Linked DNA regions of Homo sapiens: all the other regions are linked to region 6. The links are contacts of gene promoters, found by promoter capture Hi-C in blood cells and fetal thymus (Javierre and others, 2016). All regions are on one chromosome and are shown on one strand. Each heading gives the region's core, a stretch centred on a gene start or on the middle of the fragment in contact. The rest is flanking DNA. Distances are from core to core; before and after follow the strand shown. Region 1 overlaps HHAT (hedgehog acyltransferase). Region 2 holds the start of SERTAD4 (SERTA domain containing 4). Region 3 overlaps HHAT (hedgehog acyltransferase). Region 4 overlaps SYT14 (synaptotagmin 14). Region 5 overlaps HHAT (hedgehog acyltransferase). Region 6 holds the start of KCNH1-IT1 (KCNH1 intronic transcript 1). Region 7 overlaps SYT14 (synaptotagmin 14).

What was found. Contacts are between HindIII fragments. The CHiCAGO score rates a contact against its expected background, and 5 or more counts as called.
Region 1: a fragment that was not itself captured here is called in contact with the fragment with the promoter of KCNH1-IT1 in region 6 in 13 of 17 cell types (naive CD4 T cells, M1 macrophages, fetal thymus and 10 more); the score reaches 14.2 in naive CD4 T cells.
Region 2: the fragment with the promoter of SERTAD4 here is called in contact with the fragment with the promoter of KCNH1-IT1 in region 6 in 3 of 17 cell types (M1 macrophages, M2 macrophages and erythroblasts); the score reaches 6.9 in M1 macrophages.
Region 3: a contact is called between a fragment that was not itself captured here and the fragment with the promoter of KCNH1-IT1 in region 6, in 7 of 17 cell types (M2 macrophages, M1 macrophages, M0 macrophages and 4 more). The highest score is 13.6, in M2 macrophages.
Region 4: a contact is called between a fragment that was not itself captured here and the fragment with the promoter of KCNH1-IT1 in region 6, in 1 of 17 cell types (M2 macrophages). The highest score is 5.8, in M2 macrophages.
Region 5: a fragment that was not itself captured here is called in contact with the fragment with the promoter of KCNH1-IT1 in region 6 in 15 of 17 cell types (fetal thymus, endothelial precursors, M1 macrophages and 12 more); the score reaches 15.6 in fetal thymus.
Region 7: a contact is called between a fragment that was not itself captured here and the fragment with the promoter of KCNH1-IT1 in region 6, in 1 of 17 cell types (M2 macrophages). The highest score is 5.9, in M2 macrophages.

Annotation. Positions count from the first base shown.
Region 1 is chr1:210,392,895-210,396,301 of GRCh38, forward strand. All of the region lies in intron 4 of HHAT (hedgehog acyltransferase), which reads left to right. Among named protein-coding and RNA genes, the nearest start is that of HHAT, 66 kb to the left of the region's middle. RefSeq lists an enhancer at 811-1,105. The HindIII fragment of the contact is 2,942 bases long and covers 483-3,407 here.
Region 2 is chr1:210,230,882-210,234,180 of GRCh38, forward strand. SERTAD4 (SERTA domain containing 4) reads left to right here and starts at 1,915. Exons shown (of 4, transcript NM_019605.5): 1 at 1,915-2,130. SERTAD4-AS1 (SERTAD4 antisense RNA 1) reads right to left here and starts at 3,004. Exons shown (of 2, transcript NR_024337.2): 1 at 2,754-3,004; 2 at 575-890. RefSeq lists an enhancer at 1,793-2,326. The HindIII fragment of the contact is 4,360 bases long and covers 1-3,299 here.
Region 3 is chr1:210,431,616-210,434,705 of GRCh38, forward strand. All of the region lies in intron 7 of HHAT (hedgehog acyltransferase), which reads left to right. Among named protein-coding and RNA genes, the nearest start is that of HHAT, 100 kb to the left of the region's middle. The HindIII fragment of the contact is 8,555 bases long and covers 1-3,090 here.
Region 4 is chr1:210,152,689-210,155,794 of GRCh38, forward strand. SYT14 (synaptotagmin 14) reads left to right here. Exons shown (of 9, transcript NM_001146262.4): 7 at 3,033-3,106. Among named protein-coding and RNA genes, the nearest start is that of SERTAD4, 79 kb to the right of the region's middle. The HindIII fragment of the contact is 6,999 bases long and covers 1-3,106 here.
Region 5 is chr1:210,410,909-210,414,042 of GRCh38, forward strand. All of the region lies in intron 6 of HHAT (hedgehog acyltransferase), which reads left to right. Among named protein-coding and RNA genes, the nearest start is that of HHAT, 84 kb to the left of the region's middle. The HindIII fragment of the contact is 7,234 bases long and covers 1-3,134 here.
Region 6 is chr1:211,131,952-211,135,089 of GRCh38, forward strand. KCNH1-IT1 (KCNH1 intronic transcript 1) reads right to left here and starts at 1,423. Exons shown (of 2, transcript NR_046784.1): 1 at 1,237-1,423; 2 at 328-1,075. It overlaps KCNH1 (potassium voltage-gated channel subfamily H member 1), which reads right to left and starts at 2,197. Exons shown (of 11, transcript NM_172362.3): 1 at 1,916-2,197. The coding sequence starts at 1,994. RefSeq lists silencers at 1-187, 1,414-1,604, 2,099-2,378. The HindIII fragment of the contact is 10,582 bases long and covers 1-3,138 here.
Region 7 is chr1:210,136,097-210,139,163 of GRCh38, forward strand. The region is part of intron 6 of SYT14 (synaptotagmin 14); the gene reads left to right. Among named protein-coding and RNA genes, the nearest start is that of SERTAD4, 95 kb to the right of the region's middle. The HindIII fragment of the contact is 6,290 bases long and covers 1-3,067 here.

The sequences.
Region 1 (3,407 bases), core at 704-3,203, 740 kb before region 6:
ACGTTCAGCTCCTGTTTCGCACCTGACATTGGCAGAAATCTAGCTATATTAGGATATAGATGTCCCTTCATTTTATTTGCTTGTACCTTTGAGTTCTTGCTTCTCCTCTCGTGGGAGGCAGTATTTGGTGTGGTTGAGAGCACTAGGGTCAATCCCTGCATTGGCCACTCTCAAGCTGTGTAACCTTAAACAAGTTCCTGAATATCTCTAAGGCTGCTTCCACAGTTGTGCAAGCAGGATGGCACTGCTGGCTTCGTGGAGTTGTGGAGAGGGTCTGATAATCAAATGTTTTTCAGAGTTATGCTTGCACATGAGGACAGCCCAATAGATGGTGTCTGCTGCTGTCATCTGCTGGCATTTGCTCCTGGGAGCAGTTTATGGTGTTCAAGAATGGAGGTGACGGTCTTGAGATTCCAAAATCCTCAAGGGCATAGGCCATGTCTAGCATCCATACCAATGTTCCCATACTGATGGTCTTTTCAAGCTTGTCTTGGGTCCTGGGGGAAAGGATTGAGAAACACAGCCCCTTCCCTTGGGGAGTCACAGTTGAGTGGGAAGTTAGGAAAGCAAATACTGCTCACTCTTCTGTACCTGATGTTGTTGGCTGGGCACGTTACTATGGGAGAAGGTGTAGGTCTCACCTGCCGTTCTGGTCTCAGAGCAGGCCTCCGAGAAGGTGGCTTTTGAGCTGTGGCTTGAAGGAAATGGAGTTTACTTATTTCACCTTTCTGCATCTTGTTACCAGGCAGGGGTGGACAGGTGGACTAGGCTTCTTCTCTGCAGAGCACATCTTATCCAATATCAGTAGGAGGTATTCCTTTGCATTTTTCTTGGAATGAGGCAGAGTGAGCACTGAGTCATCTCCCTCTGTATGTGCCTCTCTCATCCTCTGGGTGACCACGGGTTTGATTTGTGAGACAGCTGGTGGGCCGGGTTCTGCCTGTGGCTGGGGCACAGTGCTTTCTTTGTCTGAGTTTGCTTGGCCCTTACATAAGTATGAACCACAGCGTTGGCCTCATTAGCTCTCTGCTTTCACCACCTGGACTAAGTGTTCCAGATGGCCTTAATTCGGGTAGTTGTTTTTGGTACTTACTCAGAGTGGAAGATTTAGGCTGCAGTTGTCCTTTTTTCTCCCCATTCTCTGAGGCATCCTAAACTATAGGCAACACTATGCAGGGACAGGCTTTAGCAATTCTTGCTGTTGTAGCCTTAAGCCCTGAAGGATTCTAGCCTCCTCCTTTATCTACTATCTAATCTCGTCTCTTCCTTGGCTCATTCCACCTCCTCCCATGGAGAGGTGACAGGTTATTTTTATTTTCAAAAGCATGATCTATCTTTTTTTTTTTTTTTTTTTTTTTTTTTTTTTTTTTGCCATGGTAAGAAATAAAACTTTCCACTGAGTTCCTTGGCTCAGTTAAACACCCTTTCCCTGGATAAGGCTCTCTCTTTGGGTTTTGGTGAGACTTCATCAGGAGCCAGTGCCCCTGGAGGGAAGGCTGAATCATGGCTTTCAGCTTTGGCTGTGCATTTGTTATGATTGGATTGGATGTCACGGGTCAGACAGTTGCCTCCTTTCATGAACGCCAACTGTGGCCTCACTACCACCTGAGACATTGTGTTCTCTGCCCTCAGAACCAAAAAATACCCCCGTGTGAACTTTTTGAGAAGACTGGCCTGGTGTAGGGTTGAGGGTGGGTGCTGTTGCTAACCACAGAGCCGGGTTCTCACTGTGCCTCTGACGGGAGAACCCACATCATTAGCAATTGACTGACAGGCTGAGCTCATCAGGCGCAGGTAATGCAAAGGGCTGAGAAGCCTGACCCATGGTGCTGAGTGAGATGAGTTAACCAACCTCTGGAAGGCTGCAGGGAGCAGGGTTCTTTTCCAGGACAGTCCCAAATCTATCCACTGAATAGAAATCTCATGTGCTAATGGTTTTCCTGGAATCAGCCCCTTCTACCTCCATCAGTGCATGTCTAAGGAGGGATGAAATTCCTTTTACGTGGGCCTGCTGGCCTTTGCTCCCAGGAAATGGGATGCAGTTGTTCAGACTGTGGGATGGGTGGGTTGTATTTTTCTGTTTGGGGAGATTATATATACATATGTATGTATATATATAATACATATATATTTCAGTAGCAGCTGCTATTGATTATGTAGTATGTAATAAATTGTGTCATACATAAGATTGATTGATTCCCTTTATTATTTTCCGAATAATGCTCCCATTGAGTGGTTTCTTGGCAGATGTGCAAAAAGAATTAATAGGCAGGGACGTCTGATAATGTTGCCAACAGGAATTCTGACCAAGGCTCTACACTTTCACTCCTCCCTACAGAGGTAAACTCTAAGGAGGGAACCCACCAGGCATACCCTATTATCACTTGGCACCCTTGGCACAGAATGAGCTGAAGTAGAAACAGATGGTGTGAGAAGGGGCATTGTCTGGCAGTTTTTCCTGACTCCTTATGAAGAAGGTTAAGAGTATGGATTTCAAAAGAAAGGAGGGCAAATCTGTAGTCTTTTCTTAAGGGCACTGACACCAATCCTTGGAGCTCTGCCAGCTCAACTGGTTATTCTCCCGGGAGACTCTGCTGGGGTGATGGATAGAAGCCTCTATAACAGGTATCCACTTTCCTGGATTGGTACCTGTGCCCCATCAGTTGTTAACTATTGGAGATTTCCCCCAACAGAAGTGGAGTTGTTAAGAGATGCTGTGAGTAGCAAACAGGTAATAGGCAGTGAGATGTGAAATGTCTCTTCCATTCTACCTACATTAGCAAAACAGCCATTGTTTATAAGGGGTTAAGTAGGACAAGTAGAGACTTTGGAAGACAGTAGGTTTTCACATTATTGGGTTCCAAAGTCCACATTTTACTGCTATTTTCTTGTTTTTTCTTAGTCATGATCTCAAGGTTAAATCCCAAGACTTGGGAAAGCATATCCATCTACCCAGCTATCCATCCATGCAACTATTCTCTCCATCCTTCCATCCAATAGTTATGAAACACGTGATATATGCTAGGCACTGTGCTAGATTCTGGGCTTACATTACTGTAATCTAAACAAGGCAGGAGTTTAGCCTATTAAGGAGACTATCAAGTAGAGTCAGACCCCATTTTGAGAGTGGTTCAGTGTAGACTCAGGGAGCAGAGGGGAAGGATGCCTGCTTAAGTCAACCAGGGTTAGTAAGATCTATGTCTCATCAAAAAGGCCATAGCGTTCAGTCTGGCTTTGTCTCCACTGCTGTAAAAATAGAGTATACTTTCTTATTTTTCATCAGCCTTTTAAACACTTCCCCTCTTCCCCGGCTTTCTGTTTCATCTCCTATTAGAAATGGAAGAACCTGGAATAAAGACCATTGAGTGAGGGTCAGAGTAGTTCCGGTGGGGCTGTCATCCTGTGCT
Region 2 (3,299 bases), core at 665-3,164, 900 kb before region 6:
TTATGTATTTTCACACAGCCAAGTGTACATGGGGATTTACCCATAGTCCTTTAAATGCCATAAAACTTTAATATAGGGAGATAAAAACCATAATAAGCCATGCCTCCAAACCCTCACATTTAGTTCTTTTGAGTTTGACAATAACCAGTTTTAGATTATTTGGAAATTTGGATTTCTACGTACTTGCACTGCTTTAAATGCCCTTGTGCCTTTCCTAACCCTCCTCTCCCACCCAGATGAAAATTATACTCTACTCTTAACCTGGACATGCAACTTCCATTGACTGCACAAAATGGCATCTTTACAATTCTTAAATTATCATCATAATGGCCCACATCATGCATGAGCCAATGCAATTTAATATGGTTCAGAATAAAGCCAAGATGGATGCCCAATTCCCAATTTTAGGCATGCAACCCTGGAATGTCTTTTGGAAAAAATGAAATAATGCTCTTGGTAGGCTGTTGGGTTCATCTGTTTTAAGCATAATTGCCATCTCTCAGCTTCCTAATACCCTTAAAACCTCTGAGAGTCTTTAATGTACAAAGTTCAACAAAAACACCTTCAAAACAAATTAGTTCTAATTATGTTTAATATTGGTTTGCTGCTTTATTGAATAATCTACATTTGCTTTTAAAAAAAGGAAATTCACTTAACTGCATGTCAGTCACCCAAGTTTTAAGTGTACAAATGAAATGGAAAACATTTATTACACAAATTTAATTACAATTCTAAGAAATAAACATGCAAATTAGATAGAGTTCAATTTGCAGATGCTAATCCTCATCCTTGATCTTGTTCCTTCCTCCCTTGATTTTCAGTCTGTGCGTCTTCTTGATTCCTAGGGAGCCAGGCAGCCAGAGGTCTGGTTTTTCACAGTCGGAGGATCACTGTTTTAAAGAAGTGTTATATTTAGCACATCTGGTATAGTGGCAGTAAACAAACATTATAGTCTTTGTAACACTTTTGTGCAGGTGCCTTCTCCCGATTTTATTAGGTCTATGCCTTCCAAGCCTCTGCCTTCATTACACCTGAAATGACCCATCTCGACTATGGAGGGGTCCCTAGACAGAAGTTATGAATTAATGATTTTAAAAAATAAACTCTGAGGCCACTATAGGAGAAAATTACTATTTGCAAAATATTCTGATTCCAAGGCTTAAATTACATTCTCTTGAGCAAGGACAATCTCTTGTATTACTTTTTATTTCCTGGAGGTTTTCCCTGGAGGCTCCCCACCCAGAAAGGGTTGCCAATTCAAGTTGCAGCAGGACCAAGGTTGCTTTTTTTTTTTTTTTTAATACGTACGCAGCTCAGGAGGGAAACGGGCGGGGGCGGGCGGCGAGGGAGAATAACTGTTTGGTCCTGCAAAGACATCTGTTTCTCATCTCCGTTTGCTGTGGCAAAGGAGAAGAAAGTCTTTTGCAAAGGGTGGGAAAGGCACAGATTTTTTTTTTAATCACACGCACACACAACAACAACAAAACTAAACCAAATTTAAAAAGACAAGATATCTCGGAAGGTTCCAGAGTGAATACATTATTCGGCTGGAGCCAAGCCCCCAGGGCTAGGGCGGGAGCCCGAGAGCGCGTGGGGTCTGGGCTGCGGGCTGGAGCTGGGCCCGCGTGTCCCCGGGCACCGGGAGGGGAGGGGAGGAAAAGGAGGAGGGAGGGCGGGAAGCAGGGAAGGAGGCAGGGGGCGGGCTGGGGTGGGGGTGCGGGAAAGGCGCCCCGTGTGCAGCCTGAGGAGCGGCGGCGGCGGCCTGAGCAGAGGGAGGGAGGGAGAGCGGGCGCGCTTGTCATGTTCCCTCTCTCACCCTGGGGGCATCCTGCAGAACCTCTCCTCGGAAATCCACGGGGAAATGGCAAACAGGATTGACGGGTTTCACACGCTCCTCGCTAGACAGAGCCGCTCATTACCATAACCGTCTGCAGCGACGGCGGCGCAGCGCCCCAGTCGCGGCGGCGGGACCTGCCGGGACCCTTGCCCGCCGCGCACCCGCAGTCACCGCCGAGCGGGCGGCCGGGCCGGGACCCGCGAGTGTGCACCGGCGGCCGGGCTGGCGCCGAGCCCAGAGCGGACCAGCAGCAGCTCAAGCGCTGCGGCCGCCGCCTCCCCGCTGACCCCGCGGTAAGAGCCGGGCTGGGCGCGGGCCGCGGGGGCGGGAGGGCCGGGCAGGGTGGAGGGCGAGGGCCCCCCGGGGCTCCTGCCCTCGCAGACGGGCACCCACGCGGCCTCCCGCGCGCCCTCTTGGCACCAGGGCTGTGCCGAGGTCACCGAGTGGACTCGCAGCGGCCGGAGCGGAGTCGGGGCGGCGTGGGGGCCAAGGCACAGCTGGGCGCGGAGGCGGCGCGGGCTTTTCCCTGGGCTAGCGTGCGCCGCGGCGCCTTCACCAGGGCGGGAACCGCCGCCTCCTCTAGGGCTGCTCGGGCTGCCACCCGCGCGCACCGAGACAACTCCAGGGGCGGGTGGGGTCAGAAGCTCTGGTGAGACCTCATGGTCCTCCGTGGCCGCTTAGTCCCTCATCGTAGGGGAAGGGGTTAAGTAGGAGGGGTGCCCCCAGGTCCGGATGCCGCGGCGCTTGGCAGGTGGGGAGAGAGGGATTGTGGATGTCAGGAGCGCGCGTTTGCAAGAAAAAGGAATTGATGCAGTAGCTGACACCTTCTGTCCCCCGCCACCTCCGCCCCCGCACCCTCCTCCCAGGCAGCAGAGCTGCGCTGCGGGCGGCGGCGGCTCCTCTGTCCTCAGCTCACCTCCTCGGCGGGCTGAGGCTGCTGCCCGCCTGGTCCACGCCTCCGCCTCTCGCTTCCCTTCCTCCCCTCCCGCCTCTTCGGCCCTAGCAACTTTCCGAGTGCCCAGCTGTGGTCGCAGAAGCAGGGAATAGGCGTCCTCGCCGCCAGGTCCCACGGGCGCAGGGCGCTCCCGCAACCGCGGGCTTCCAGCGGGTTTGGCCGGCAAGGGAGGGAGGGAAGGCCGGGCCGACATCTGCTGCGGGCTGGAGCGCGGGGGCCCGGGCCAGCCCCGCCAGAGCCCTGCCAGCCGCTGTGAGTCATTTCCTTGGAATCCTACCTTTGGTGTTTATTTCCCTTAGAAGGAAACTTGGTTTTTTTTTTAAAAAAAAAAAAGGATAAGACATAAAGAATAATAATAGCTCTTATTCTTCAGAAGAGGCACACGGCTGCGGCACCGTAGAAAGACAACTTGCCTTTGTTCCCGGACACTTGGGGTGTTGTTTACTTTCTCCTGCGGCCAGCGGCCGACCGGGCGCTGCTGGCTACCCGGGGAGGGGCTGAGGGCTG
Region 3 (3,090 bases), core at 432-2,931, 700 kb before region 6:
CTCCAGCAGCTTCCCCCTTTATGTACCTTGTGGCCATAACTGCATCATCTGGGTCATATGGCCATATTATAATCATCCCATGATTAGTTGTAACCAGGAATTTCTTCCAGGTTACTATGGGGAAGAGGTTGGACACGGGAATGAAATTCCCTTTCCAATGGCAAGGACTGGGGGAAGAGAGTTGTTTGGGAGGCAGCCAGTACTTTGTATTAGAGCAACTACTTCTGAATACAAAGTAGCAGTGTAGTGTTTCAAATTGGAAAATTTGAAAAGTAGTATAATAGGCAGCCAAGAAAATAGAAGATTTAAATGTTATAATTGTTTTATTCGACTCTTAAAACAATTAATTTGAGGCTTATGATTTGTAGAGTGACCAAATATCCCATTTTGCAGTCCTATTCTATATCTGTTTTCCTGATATCATTATTAATAGTTTCTTTCATTCTCAAAAGTGTCCCTGAAAAGTGAGCATCCATGGATTTTGGTATCTGTAGGGGTTCTGGGAACCAATTTCCCAGGGATGCGACTGGAGCTCAGGAGTGAGATTGGCAATGGAGACAGGTACGTGGGAACTGTTGCACACATGTGATAACTGAGGCCACAGGAGTAAAAGGACTTCCTTGAAAAATGTGTAGAATGAGAATAAAGGAGGGCCAAGTATAGAACTTTAGAGAATGTTAAAATTTAAGAGGTGAGCCGGAAAAGGAGTCAGTAACGAATGAGAAGGAATGTTAATAAACAAAGGAGGAAGCCAGTGGTTTTGTGAAGGTTGCAAGAAGAAAGCTCAATTTATCAGAGGTTGAAAAGAGGCTGCGTAAGAGGGGATTTAAGAGAGTCTTTCATTTTGGCAAATGGGAGGTCATAATTGACTTTGGTCATGGTTGACGTTGTTCATTTTGGGGGACTAAAGACCAGGGCTACAGAATAAATCAAAGGTGAAAAAATAGAGGCAGAAGCTAATATGCTGCTTTAGTTGTGTTAAATGATGACTTAACTGCCACGTAGTCTTAGATGGCCTTGCTATCACATAGCCCAGTGGGTCCTGACTGCATCTTTTTACCTTCTGGTGGACCTGCCATTTCCAGGCTGCTCCTCAGGGTCTCCGTCTCTCCAGGCTGCCATGATGTGGAGTATAGCATGGCAAACATCCCCTTTCTTTCCAGCACATGGGCACCTTCAGCTTCAAGGTTTTGGTGCTAATCCTTCTTGAGATGTTTCAGAAAGATAAAATAAGCATAAGGGGGTTATAAGGTTTGCAGAAGGCATGTGAGCTTTGGGCCCTGGTGGCAGCCTCTGATTTCCTTCTGAACTAATACAGAGATACTGTAATTTTTTTATTCTGTCACTTTTAACCTCTCGATGGCAGGGCTCTCATTCCACTAAGGCCCTTTTTTCCATCCAAAAGTTGCGGTTAAGTGTGAGACAGCAGCACAGACAGTAAAAGATGTCTCTTTGTCTTACATGGAAGAAGATATACAACAGATCCTTCATCTCTAAATCTCAGGACTGGGTAACATTCTACCCTGTCCAGGAATGACCCCCTCTGAACACCCCAAGCTGAGTGAGAGCTGCTTTAGAGATGCGCCTATACCACTGCCTCTGGGGTCTTTCTCCTGCAGCACTCACAGCGCAGGTGCTTAATGAGTACTTCACTTGCAGGTTCAGGTGAAGTAAAATTTCACAGGGACTCTGCCTGGCAGTTGACATCAGATTGGTGTTAGTGTGAGCAGCCAGATATCCAGATGAGTGATTGATACAAGATTTTGCATAAGGCAGCAAAGGGAAATCATGCGTCGTACATTATTGCTCCAAAAAGGGATCGCTGCAAGTTAACAGAAATAGAGAATATAAATAGAGGTTGTTTCTCGTGGGATTGATTTGATGTGGTTAATCAAAGGAGAGAAATATTCACATACTCCATGGAAGGTGTTTAATCCTCTCCTGGTGGGGGTGGAAAAAAAACAGTGGTGGCTGCTTGTCTGTCAGGGCTCCGTTGCTACTCCCTGGGATTGAGAGGACATTGGGAGCTCCATGGCAACAGGGTGACATTTGTTTTTCTTTCATTTCCCTTAATCCTCTCCTGGAGATATCAAACTAAAATTTTCTTCCCATTTATTTTTCTCTCTTTTCAGGGTGATGTTGATGATGATTATTAATTTTAACCTTCTCCTTCAATTTCTAGTGAGAGTTAGAGCTGCTGTAATCAGGCTCTCAGGTGGAGGCCAGGCTCCAGGAAGATCTTCCTGAGCACTGCCTGGGCAGGGCATTGGGCTGTGGATGTTGTCCACACCAGCGTTGTACCAGTCTACATGGGGTTACCTCTGCCCCCACTGTGGCTGGCCCAGCACCTGCATTAGACATATCTTACTGGAAGGATAGAACTTTAGAGAACACTGATATTTGACAGGTAGATAGAAAAAGAGGGCTATCAATGAATCAGAAGGAATATTAATTAATGAGGAAGTAAACAAGTGTCTTGTGAAGGTTTAAAAAAGAAGAAGGTACACAATTTATCAGAAGTTGAAGAGAGGCCAATAAGAGGGGAATGAAGAAAGTCTGTTTCAGTTTTGGCAAATGAGTCGTGATTGACTTTGGTCATGGTTGCCACTGTTCATTCGGGGGAATATAGACCAGGGTTGAATAATAATCAGACGTGAGAAAATGGACATAGTTTGGGGGAAATTTTAAATGTTTCTGCTTTCAGTAACTAAAAGCAATCAGAAACTAGTGGGAAATGTGATAGTGATTATAGCTTTCTGAAGGCCAGTGGGAGGCTGAATTCTCTTAATATGCAGGAATGTTCAGGAAGAGGGTACTGAGCAGCTCCTTTCCATGTCGGCCGAGTTCAAACAAGGTTTAAGTTTAAGCAAGGAAATGTTATTAGATATAGTCCTCAAGGGGTATACCACAGACTGGACACCTTCAGGAAGACACACACTATCTCTTATACAGCTGAAAATACACACATCTCTTTCCCCAAGTAACTATTCAAGTCCAGGCTCTCAGTGGGCTCAAGGGAGTGTCCACATCTCCTGGAATTTGGCCATAATGTTAATATCCTACAACTGTGGGCTCAGTTGTAGAGTTAGC
Region 4 (3,106 bases), core at 477-2,976, 980 kb before region 6:
AGAAACTCCCATCCTGCCCTTCCCAATCACTGTTCTTCTCTCCCACCTCCAGAGTTAACTACAATTTTTACTTTATGTGAATTACTTTTTTGCTTTTCTTTATAATGTTACCACCTATTAATACATCGGGAACATAATGGTTTAGTTCTGCTTGGTTTGAGGTTTTGGTTTTTGGGTTGTTTGATTTTTTTGTTTGTTTTTTTTACTTTACATAAATGGAATTATGCAGCTGGTATCCTTTTGGGCCCAACATGTTTTACTTAAAATCACATTTGTAAATGTTATAATTGGTTTTCATTGCTGTATAGTATGCCATTGTATGAACTCAGTACAAACTATCCATTCTATTGCTTGGATCCAATATGAGTAATGCTGCTATGGACATTCTTTCATATGTCTCTTGATAAACACTGCACTTATTTCTGATGGGTATATATGTAGGGGTGGAACTGCCAGATCATAGGGTATGTGTATTTATAACATTTAAAACATTGGTATCACTCCACATTTCTACAAGAGAACTATGATAGTTCCCAGTGCTTTGTCCTCACCACATTTGGTATTCTTTTAGCTCATCTGTTTGTTGTGTAGCGTTACCTCATAGTTTTCATTTCCATTCCCCTGATTACTAATGAAGTCAAACAATTCAAAGAAACCTGCCGATATTTTTATTGGAATTGAATTTAATCTATGGATTAATTTGGAAAGAATGTTACAAAATTGAGCTAATACAGTAACAGTTTATATAGTACTTTTTGGTTTCTCCCAATAATGTTCATAGTTTTCTGTATAGAGGCCTTGCATATCATTTGTTACATTTATTCCTACATATTTTATATTTAAATGCCATAATAAATGATATTTTAATAAATTTTATTTTCTGTTTGCTTCTGATATATAGTAATGTATGGATTTCTAAATTTTACCTCTGTATACAACTGCAGTTCATCTGTAGATTTGTTCCTGTGTACATAATTATGTAATCTGCACATAAGGGCTTTTTAAAAAAATCTAGTCCCCTTCCAAATCATTATACTTTTTATTTCATTTTATTGTCTTTAGTAAGGCTAGGATCTTCACTAGCTGGTATCTCCACTACAGTGTTGACTAAAAGTAGTAATAGTTGGCAATTTCAAAGGGGAAACATTAACATTTTTTGCTATTAAGTACGATGTTGCATGTTGCTAGATTTGGTTTGCTGATGTATATTTAGGATTTTTTCATCTAGATTCATGAATGAGAAAATCTTGTAATTTTTCTTTTTTATAATGCCCTTATTAGATTTTGGTTTTAATATTTTGCTAAATTCTTAAAGGAAGTTGAGGAGTGGTTTCTCTTTCTCTAATATCTGAAAGAGTTTGTGTAAAACTAGCATTATTAATTAGAATTCACTAGTGAAGCCATCTAGGCCAAAGTTTCTTATTTTTGTTTTGTATGTGTATTTTGGAAAGGCTTTTAATTACAAATTCAATTTCTTTAGTAAGACTGTTTCTGAACAGTCTTCCAGCATCTCTTCTGGTTGGTAATAACTTTCTAGAAAGATGTCTATTTCAGAGGTCTCCAACCCCCCGGCCACAGACCAGTACCAGTCCATGGCCTGTTAGGAATGGGCGCCGCACAGCAGGAGGTGAGCAGCAGTGGGCTAGCGAACATTACAGCCTGAGCTCGGCCTCCTGTCAGATCAGTGGCAGCATTAGATTACCCTCTACATCCTGTCCATGGAAAAATTGTCTTCCAGGAAACTGGTCGCTGGTGCCAAAAAGGTTGGAGATCGCTGGTATATTTCATTCAAATTTCAAATTTACTAGAAGAAACAACTTTCTTCTAGTATCCTATCCTATTATTTTTTCATGGTCTCTAGAATATGTAGTGATGTCTCCTTTTTCATTCCTGATCATTGTTATTCGTCCCTTTTTTCTTAATTGGACTCTCCAGAAATTTATTCATTTTATTAGTCTTTCAAATCACTTATTTTTATTATCATTTAGTTACCTATGGGTTACTAAAAGTATACCTTTAATTTCCAAAAAATATAGATATTTTATTCTCCTCTAGAACAGAGTTTGGTTTTCTAATCAATCAAAAAACATTATGAATAATTTTCATCATTTGAAATTATTATTTGCTTTAATTTAAAAATTCTGTGTACTTGGGAAAATTATATTTTGTAGTTATTAGGTATAATATTCTGCATATGACCATTAGGTCAATTTTGCTTATTGTGATATTCAAGTCTTCTACATCCTTATGGTACTTATTTGTCCACCCATTTGGTCAGTTACTGAATTTGGTCAGTTAATGAGGGAAGTGTGCTTATGTACCCAGTGATTATGGATGTCTGTGTTTCTCTTTCTAGTTCTGGCCATTTTTGCTTTCTGTATTTTGAGTCCATGTTATTAAATGCATCCAAATTTGGGATTATTTTAGTTTTTAGTAATTTCAATGTTTTATCATCATTTTGTATACTTCTTCAATCTCTAGTGGTGATTATTGCCTTAAAGCCAACCCTGACTGATACTAATGTAACTACATCAATTTGTTTGATTATTTTTTACATGATTAATTTTTCCCATGTTTTTCAACTTTTCTATATCTCTGTGTTTTAGATGTTGGCTTATAAATAGCAGGTAGTTTTGTTTTGTTTATTTAAAGGCACAGTTAGGACATTTGATGTATTGAGTCTAAATCTTTGTCAGTCTTTTAAGGTTGATAATCTTTAAACAATAATTTCTCATATTCAAAAAACAGTTTATTAGCATCTATAAGTTTAAGCAACATTGCTCTTATTTCCTTATAAATATGCAGGGATTTATGAAATCTTCTCATTTCCTATTACTTCTTTGGCTTTTACATAATGAAAAGAAATCCAGGGGCTAAAATATGCTAAGGACAATAATTCTAATCTGGTGTTTGGTTTGCAACTCATCTTTATTGTGATTTACCTACCTAATCCAAATAAACATGGCATAACAATATATCTCTTAATATATCTCTCTTGCAAAATACTATAAAAATGTTATTATTGATTACAGGGCTGTGACTCCCAAATGAGCGTGTCAGAAATGTCGTGTAGTGAAAGTACATCCTCATGTCAGTCTCTTGAACA
Region 5 (3,134 bases), core at 213-2,712, 720 kb before region 6:
TAGTCCTTTTGGTCCTGTAGTGACATGTAATTATGCCTTATTATACCTGGTAGGGAAGTTTTAGCTTGTGAAAAGTAGGTAAGTCATTATTAAGAAGCCAATGCATGACAAAATGTACCTCATGATTTTTCTTAATTACAGATATTTGTGTCATTTTAGAATGCACATGTTTGAGGAGGGAAAGGAGGCCTTTGAATTCACCTTGAAACGTGATTGCCTGGAGCTGAGAGGTGATTGGGTGTCAGCGATATTTTCTTGATTATCTTGGGGGCTGTTGGTTCTGGCCTCCTCCTGGCTCCCTTCCAGTCCAGCTGCTATCTCTCCACTCCCTGGGATGGGGCTCCATACCAAATGCTGCTTGGAGGCCCGAGGTACTGTCCTGGCCTTCAGGGAACCTGAGCTTTGGGTAGGTTATGCTGAAGAGCCTGTAGGCCATATGCACAGTTGGCTTATTTAGAAACTGTAGACATTTGTCTGTGTGAAGATTATCTGCTGTCAACACTGCTTTTGAGGCCATTATCACGTTCAGCTAGAAGACTTGCTTCTCTCCAAGAGTTTGAGCAGGTTGGGCACAGTGATTTACACCTGTAATCCCAGTGCTTTGGGAGGCTGAGGTAGGAGGATCACTTGAGACCAGGAGTTCGAGACCAGCCTGGGCAACACGGTGAAACTCAGCTCTACAAAAAATAAAAAAAAATCAGCCAGGCGTGGTGGTACATGCCTGTAGTCCCAGCTGCAGGGGAGGCTGAGGCAGGAGGATTGCTTGAGCCAAGGCTACCATGAGGTAGGGTCACATCATTGCATTCTAGCCTGGGCAATAGAGTGACACCCTGTGTCATAAAGAAAAGAGTCTGGGTGCCAGGAAAGACCTGTCCATTGGTCTAGAGTGATTTTGCTGCCTCTACATGTCTTACATGCCTCTACATGCCTCTACATGTCTTAACCTTGGTGTGAACTCCTCTAGCCTCTACAGACTAATGGATAGTATGTATCTTAGTCCATTCAGACGGCTATAACAAAATATCATAAACTGGATGGCTTCTGAGCATCAGAAATTTATTTCTCACAGTTCTAGAGGCTGGGAAGTCCAAGATCAAGACACTGCCAGATTTGATGTCTGGTAAGGGCCTGCTTCCTGGTTCACAGGATGGTACCTGTCACTGTGTGCTTTTGTGGTGGAAGGGGTCTAACTCTTTGGCGTCTCTTTTATAAGGGTGCTATTCCCAACCATGAAGAATGCCCTCATGACCTAATTACTTCCTAAAGGCACCATCTCCTAGTACCATTACCTTGGGGGTTAGGATTTCAACATAGGAATTTTTAGAGGGATGTAAACATTCAATTAATAATATTTTGCCCCTGCCCCCTGAAAATTAATGGCCTCCTTACATGCAAAATACACTCATTCCATCCTAATAGCCCCAATAGTATTAACTTGTTCCAGCACCAACTCAAGTGTCTGAAATCCAAAGTCTCATTTAAATATCATCTAAGTCAGATGTGTGTGATACTCAAGGTATGATTCATCCTTATGCAAATTCCCCTTCAGCTGTGAGCCTGTGAAATCAAGCTCTGTACACCCAAATCCAATGGTGAGACGGGCATAGGATGGACACTCCAATTCCAAAAGGTAGAAATTGGAAAGAAGAAAGGAGTAAAAGCTCCTGAGGAAGTCCAAAACCTTAAGGCTCAGGAATCATCATGTTTGGCTCATTACTCTGCCCTCCAGGCCCACTAGGGTGGAGGTTTCACCTCTCAGACACACTGGGGTGCCTCTGGACACATGGTGGTGGGGAGGGGGTTATGCCTCCTGCAGATCACCCAGGCCAGAATCTTGAGCTGGTGGCTCTACTGGTCTGGGGTCATGAGACAGTGCCACCCTCATGGCTCTGCTGGGCCCTGCCTCTGTGCAGTTCTTTGTCTGGGCCCCATGGCTCTCTAGGCATTGTTAGAAATCTAGGTGGAGGCAGCCACACCCCCTCACAGCTTTTCTGGTTGCAGTGCCAACTACACTGCACTGGGGCCCACAGGAGCCACCCTTGGGGCAGCCAAGGAGTGTGGTGACGGGGAGTGGGGAGCAGAGCCCACAATGTGAGGCAGGACTGGGCAGTGACAGCCCCTCCTTTGCATCTGCAATTGCTTTGTCCCCCAGGCCTTTGCACTCTGGCCTGTGATGATGGTGGCAGCAGAGAGGGTCAAAATATTCACAGTATTATAATGTTACATTACTTTTTCTCTGACTGAAAAGAACCAATTTTAATTGTAAAACATAACTAAAATCTCACCATCCAAAGATTACCACTGTTGACATTTGGTGTATATCTTTCCAGCCTTTCATTATTTTATGCACATTGAACACAAATAGTTTTCATGACTGAATTCTCTTTGTGATCACTCTTCCATTGTCTTGGACAGGAGGTCCTGGCTTCTGTTTAAACAGCTGACTAACCTTATCAGGTGGTTGGTTGGCCACATTCTTGATGTTCTCTCCTGAACAGGCTTTCTCATTCTTGATAGTATGGAAAGGCTGAGAGTTTTCCAAATCTTTAAGTTCTGCTTCCCTTTTGATTAACAATTTTGTCTTTAAATCACTTTTCTCCTCTGCTGTTTTACTATAAACAGTCAAGAGGAGCCAAGTTGCACCTTCAACACTTTGCTTAGAAATGGCTTTAGCTAAATATCCAATTTCATTACTCACAAATTCTGCCTTCCACAAAACACTAGGATACGAACACAATTCAGCCAAGTTCTTTGCTGGTTCATAACAGGATTGCTTTTCATTCAGTTTTCAATACCATGTTTCTCTTGTCTAAGAAATCATCAGATTGGCCTTTACCATGCACATTTCCACCAACATTCTGTTCACTACTGCTCAGCTATTCTTTAAGAATATTGAGGCTTTCTCTGCAGCTCTTCTCCTTTCCTTCTGAGCCCTTGCCAAAATTTCCCTTAAAGATCCATTTACAGCAATGTATACTGCTTAAAGCATGCACCTCCAAACTCTTCCAGCTTCTATCCATTACCCCTTCCACACTACTTGCATATTTTTGGGTATTTTGTTACAGCAGCACTCCCACTCTTGGTACTGATTTTCTGCCGTAGTCCATTTGAGCTGCTGTAACAAAATACTATAA
Region 6 (3,138 bases), core at 173-2,672:
ACAGAGGGAAAGTGGCTCTAATAAGATCAACTAAAATAGACAGTATTCTGCCTTCACAGCTCCAAGATTCTTAAGGTTCCCTTAAAACCCAAGGCATCTTGTGACTTTTACATGTAAGTTTCTCTTCCTGCTCCCTCCACTCAAAAACATACACAGTATACATTAGGTACTGGGTTTCCCCTCTAACTTACAGGGCACTGCCTCTTTACTGAAAAATAGAATTGTCATTGATATTTATGAGAAAGTTGGTGTCACTGACAATGGGATAACCAAATTTGCAAGATTGTCTCCATACCCCTTAATAGTCCAATAAAAATAGCAATAATAGCACAGTAACTCTTATTTTATTTAAAAATAAATGAACAACTCCAGCTTTTTTATGGCAAAACAGTTCATTGTGGCTGTTCACATAGCAATTATCATCCCCTTGCATCCCCAGGTAATGACTGTGACCTTGACCTAAAAGCCACCTTAGTTTGAATAAGGAAGACCTTGAAAGGAAAGGTGACTGACCAGAAACACTCTTAAGAGGCACACAATAAAGAAATGATCATTTCTAAGAAAGTACTTAAATAATACGTGATTATTTGCTATGCTAGTTGATGTGTTTCATTATAAGATAAACTTAAATCACTGTTTAATTAAAGAGTGTTTATTAGTAGCATAAGTCACTTTTCATGCCCTTCCCCTGAATCCCTAACTAAATCCAAACAGAAGCTCATCATTTTACACAGAAGCTCCTTAGACTCTGAAATCGTGATATTTACACATTATTAAAACCCATTTCCTAAGTTAGCTCCTCATGTCTCCCTGGTAGAAGAATGTCATCTGTTTCTGGAAGGGGTGGGGTGGGGGCTCTAGGAGTCTGCAAAGAGCATCTTATGCTTGGCTATCTTTCAATATAGCCATTTGATGAACTCGTGCGCTGCGCCTTCCAACTGCCAGGACTCCTAGTCGCTCTGCAAGTGCTTAGTTGGGGTCTCTCCTCTGTTAAGTCCGAAAGGCGTTTGGAATTCTTCCTTTCCATCCCCGCTCCTAGGACTCTCGCCTCTCAAGGCTTCATGCTACCGTCGATCTTAATGCCACAAGGAAACAGATGAGTGCTGATTGTCAGTTTATTGGGTAATGGATCTATTTATAGGTTTGGTGAGATTGGGAATTTATAGGTGAGCAACACTTAAGGGTGGCATAAAACCGTTGTGGGTTTGGAAGAGGGGAAATATAACAGGTTTGTACCTGTGACCATTTAGTTCGCTCTGCACCTGTGCCCTCCACTTCCCACCTGACGCCAGGAAAACCATCTGCCCCTCACTTCGAAGGTGAGCCTTAACTTCACCTAGAAAGTGGTGGGTGGGTGAAGGGGTGGAATCAGGCCGCCGAGAGCACGTCCCGACACCTCGGACTTTTCAGTTGCAGGGATGGAAGGTGGAGGCAGCCGGATCCTCCCATTCTGAGGCAGCGGGGACCTGGAGTTGCCCGTCTCTACTGCTGGCTCTCCCTGGGGAGAGGCGGCGCCTCTGGGAGCAGCCCGGGAGCCCCAGAGCCTTCGCGGAAGGGTGGGCAGTGCCGATGGGGCGCGCGCTGCCGCTCCGGCTGCAGCCAGCTTTCCATCACTTTTCCCAGTACTTTGCTCAGCAGCTGTCACGCATCCTTGGAGATAAGACCGAGAGGGCGCTAGAAAGGCCCAAAAGGCGTCCCCAGAAGAGCTCTCCTGTTAGGATGGGGACCCATCAGACCCCGCCCCGCCCTGCCCACCTTTCTCTGCCTCGGGGAGGCTGCCCTGGGTGCCCGCGCCGCGGCTCCTTAGCAGAGCTCGCGGGTTCTGCTGCATCTGCTGGCTCCGAGCGGCGAGAGGTTCTGCAATAAAGGCACGGATAAAACGCCCGGGTAATCGAAATCCGAATGCACCTCTTACCATTGGACCGCCGAACAATATTCTCCAGAAACGTGTTTTGAGGGGCCACTAGTCCCCTCCTGCCCCCAGCCATGGTCATCCTCCCAGCAGCTCGGGGTCCGGCGGGCGTCCTGGCGCGGCTTCTTACGACAGCAGGAAACTGGCCTCGGGGCCCGCACGCAGTCCCGGCTCGAAGCGCCCCATGCGCCCGGCGGGGATCCGCAGGCAGGGCTGGCGGCTCCCTCTGGCTGCTACCCTCGCGCCCTCTTCGCGCCTCCCTCCCTGCGGCCCGCCTCGCAGTGCACTCGCGCCGGCCTCGGCTAGCGGCAGCCGCCTCCGGGTGGGCGGAGGGAGCAGCGGCGCCTGGGCCGGCGGCGCCCCCTACCGGGCTCGTGCCCCACCGCCGGCCTGCGGGAGACCAAGCTGGGGGGCTCCCGCAGAGGCAGGGAAGTGGCGGGCGGCCGTGGACCAAGGCTGGGACGGCAGCGCCACCCTCTGGGTTCAGCCGGGAAATGTGTTCAGGATGTGCCATGGGCTGGGTGGAGAGGAGGGCATTGTGAGCAGCTTTCAGGGCGGATTCACCCCCAACAAGTCTTAGGGGAGCGTGCTGATGTAACTCTCTTCCTTTGCTCTGTTTCAGGCCGGGGCCCCCGGGACCTGTGAGGCTCTGGGAACACCTTCTTGCCTTCCTGTAAGGTTAGCCTGACTAGTGAAAGTTGCCCCACCTTGATTCTAGGCCAGTGTTTGAGCAGTAATTAATGAAGTCGTATTGCAATAGTGCAGATTTAGAGTGACTGGCAGATTCAGCTTCAGAAGAGTTGTCTTGGGTTGTTTTTACCGTAGACACAAATGCAGGCTCCTGATGTTTGGTATGATCAGTATCAAACTGCCTGACAAACATCAAAGGGGTGGACTTGTCTCTAAGGGCGAATGCTCAGGAGAGGGGCAGCATTAATTAAGCAACCGTGGCTTTGGCTTGAAGGGTAGTCTGTAGTGCAGAGGATACAGTTAGTTTTTACAGCTGACCCCTGGTATACGGAAGAACCACATACACCCAAGGTTTCTGGACAGGGGCTAAGACAACGGTCGTTTGTTCACTTATTTTGGGGGATTTCGACCCACACATAGTCTGTACCTGCCTTTTTACTATGTATCCCCAGTCGGTGCGGTGGGAGACTAAGCCTATGTCCCACAGGAGAAATGAATGGAGAGTTTACTAGTTTCAGACTGAGTCAACAGTCAAC
Region 7 (3,067 bases), core at 408-2,907, 1.0 Mb before region 6:
AAGCCTGTAGAAAATAGGATCCAGACAGCAGGTGGAGAAATTGGTCTGAAATACAAGGGATGCCTCCTCTTACAATGGTAAGAAAGAAGGAGAGAATCCAGATGTCAGAAAGTTTGTAGATATTTTCACAGGAAGTTGAGGAAGTTTCCACATATTGAGAGGTGTGTGTGTATGCGTGCATGTGTATGTGAGAGAGAGAGAAGCAGGAGGCAGGAATGAGTAAGGAGAAAGGGAACGGGGTCAGTGATTTTAGGAGAATGGAACTGGGTCAGCTGATTTTAGAAAATGGAAGATTTATAATAATTGGGGAAATGGAAAAATAAATTTACCCGAGAAGTATAACTAGATTGTAAGTATAGCCAGATGATGGCCAAAGTTCCAATTCATCCCATTGTGTGATGCTTTTCCTAGTACAATCAAGGAGTTAATTGGTTCTTCCAAGGTTAGCGTTTTGGCAGCTTGGAATGCCAGCTTGATAGAGGAAGAAGTAAGGACAAGAAGGGGCTGATGAACAAAAAGTATAGTGTCAAGCACTGAAGGTCCAGTCAAAGCATGGTGTTATGAGAGCAGTTGAGTGGGCAAATTATGTTAGAAAAAAGAGGTGTAGTTAGCACCTGTTTTACTTAGTAACTTTGGCGAAGACCTCACCGTAGCCTCTGGTGGTGCCGAGGCCCAATAAATAATAGTGAGACTGGGAGGGAGAAGTCATTAGAGATGAGAAAATCAAATAACTTAGTGTGCAGACTGTTAGAAGGATCATTCATGTGGAAATTTAATTCACCTTAAGTCACATTAAGTCAGAGAGATGTTAGGGTACAGGGGAATCTGTGAGCCAGGTGGAATTCTTCACTAAAGGAGCAGGCCTCACTAGATGATTAGCAGTTGAAACATTGCTGAGAGGGAGAAGATGGTACAGTCAGATGGCAGGAGCTTCAGACTGAACCACAATCTGCAGGAGTGCCTCATGGATCCTGGTAACATATGCTTGAAAATTTTATACAAATGAATTTCTGTCAGTGTTTGGGCAGATTTGAAGGGACTTACCCAATTTTGTAATTTGTATCAATCCCCTCTGAAGGCCCAAACAATATCGGGAACTCTGAAGAGGAGGCAGGTGTGGGCCCCAGATTTGAAAGGTAAACTCGTAGGACACAGCCTCCTTCACCTCCTATGCTCACATTCTTGATGGGCAGTTACCATACCCCCACCAAAAATCATCACCATCCCACTGGCACTCTTCCTTGGTAGAAATGTGGGGACCTCACTACTCTTGTGAATTATAGAGGGAAAAATAATGAAAGTGAATATGAGGATGAAGCCAGATTATAAAGATCCTCAAAAACAGAATAAGGGATTTAGACTTCTTAGTAAAAAGACCATTCGAATTAAGAGTCCAGAATCCTAAGTCCTAGTCCATTTTCTCCAGAACAACTAGATATGTTAAAACTTTCAGAAAGATATTTAATTAACCTCTCCAGGCCTTATTTTTTTTTTTCATTTCTAAGGTAAATAGGTAGAGTAGGTTGATTTGAACCATGTTCTCCAGAAATGCTCTGGGATTCTGGAAATGTTTGCTTCAAATTTCTTTTTTTTTTTTTTTTGAAATGGAGTTTTGCTCTTGTTACCCAGGCTGGAGTGCGGTGGCGCAATCTCACCTCACTGCAACCTCCGCCTCCTGGGTTCAAGTGATTCTCCTGCCTCAGCTTCCTGAGTAGATGGAATTACAGGCATGCGCCACCACGCCCAGCTAATTTTTGTATTTTTAGTAGAGACGGGGTTTCACCATGTTGGTCAAGCTGGTCTCAAACTCCTGACTTCGTGATCCACCCGCCTCAGCCTCCCAAAGTGCTGGGATTACAGGCGTGAGCCACTGCGCCCAGCCTCTTTTTTTAATTATAATTTAAAATGGTAAATAAAAAAAAATCAACATAAACACATGCTGTGTACTAAATTTTAATCTATTGGAAATTGTTTACATGTTAACTCACTGTATTAGTCCATTCTCAACACTGCCAATAAAGACATACTGAGGCTGGGTAATTTATAAAGAAAAAGGGTTTAATGGACTCATAGTTCCACATGACTGGGGAAGTCTCACAACCATGGTGGAGGCAAATGAGGAGCAAAGTCACATCTTACATGGCGACAGGCAAGAGAGCCTGTGCAGGGGAACTGCCCTTTATAAAACCATCAGATCTCATGAGACTTATTTACTATCAAGAGAACAGCACAGGAAAAACCCACCCCCATGATTCAATTACCTCGCACCAGTTCCCTCCCATGACATGTGGGGATTATGGGAGCTACAGTTCAAAATGAGATTTGGGTGGGGACACAGCCAAACCATATCACTCACTATCTACTTTTTTGTCTTCTATAGATTTACTAATAAAGCCACTTCTCCCATATCTCTCTATATATTTGAAATTCTTGTAATTGTGACTTGGGAATAGCTATAGGTTGGTGTTGATATATTGTTTAATTGCTATATATTGTTTAATTTAGTCCTATATATGTCTGCCAAAAAAATTCTATTAATACTAAATTCATACATCACAGTCACTGCTTTTTCTATATTTAAAAAATCAGGTAGTTTTAATTATTTGCATAAAATCAGGGTAGTTTTCTTTAAAATATAAGCAATCATTATAGTAATGGTTTAACTTAAAAAGTTTCTGTAATGTTCCCTAACTTTATCTTTCAATTTTCTTGGTCAGTTCAATGAATTAATATTCTGACATTGCAAGACAAGGTAATTCACAACTTATCAGCTCTTTATTGATTTTATACATAAAATAAAACACAAACACTGGATGCAAAGTTAATATATGACTAAACTGTTACCAACAAACCTAAATATCAAATTTCATTTTTTATTGAAATAGCCTGTTATAATTTGAGCTCAGTAATAAATGTACTAATACAATGCTATACTTACCTGTTTCATGTATTTGAACGTGGAATAAGATTTTATTTTTTTAAAGAGTACTTTTATTTTTTTTTTTTTTGAGACAGAGTCTTGCTCTGTCACCTAGGCTGGAGTGCGGTGGTGTAATCTCAGTTCACT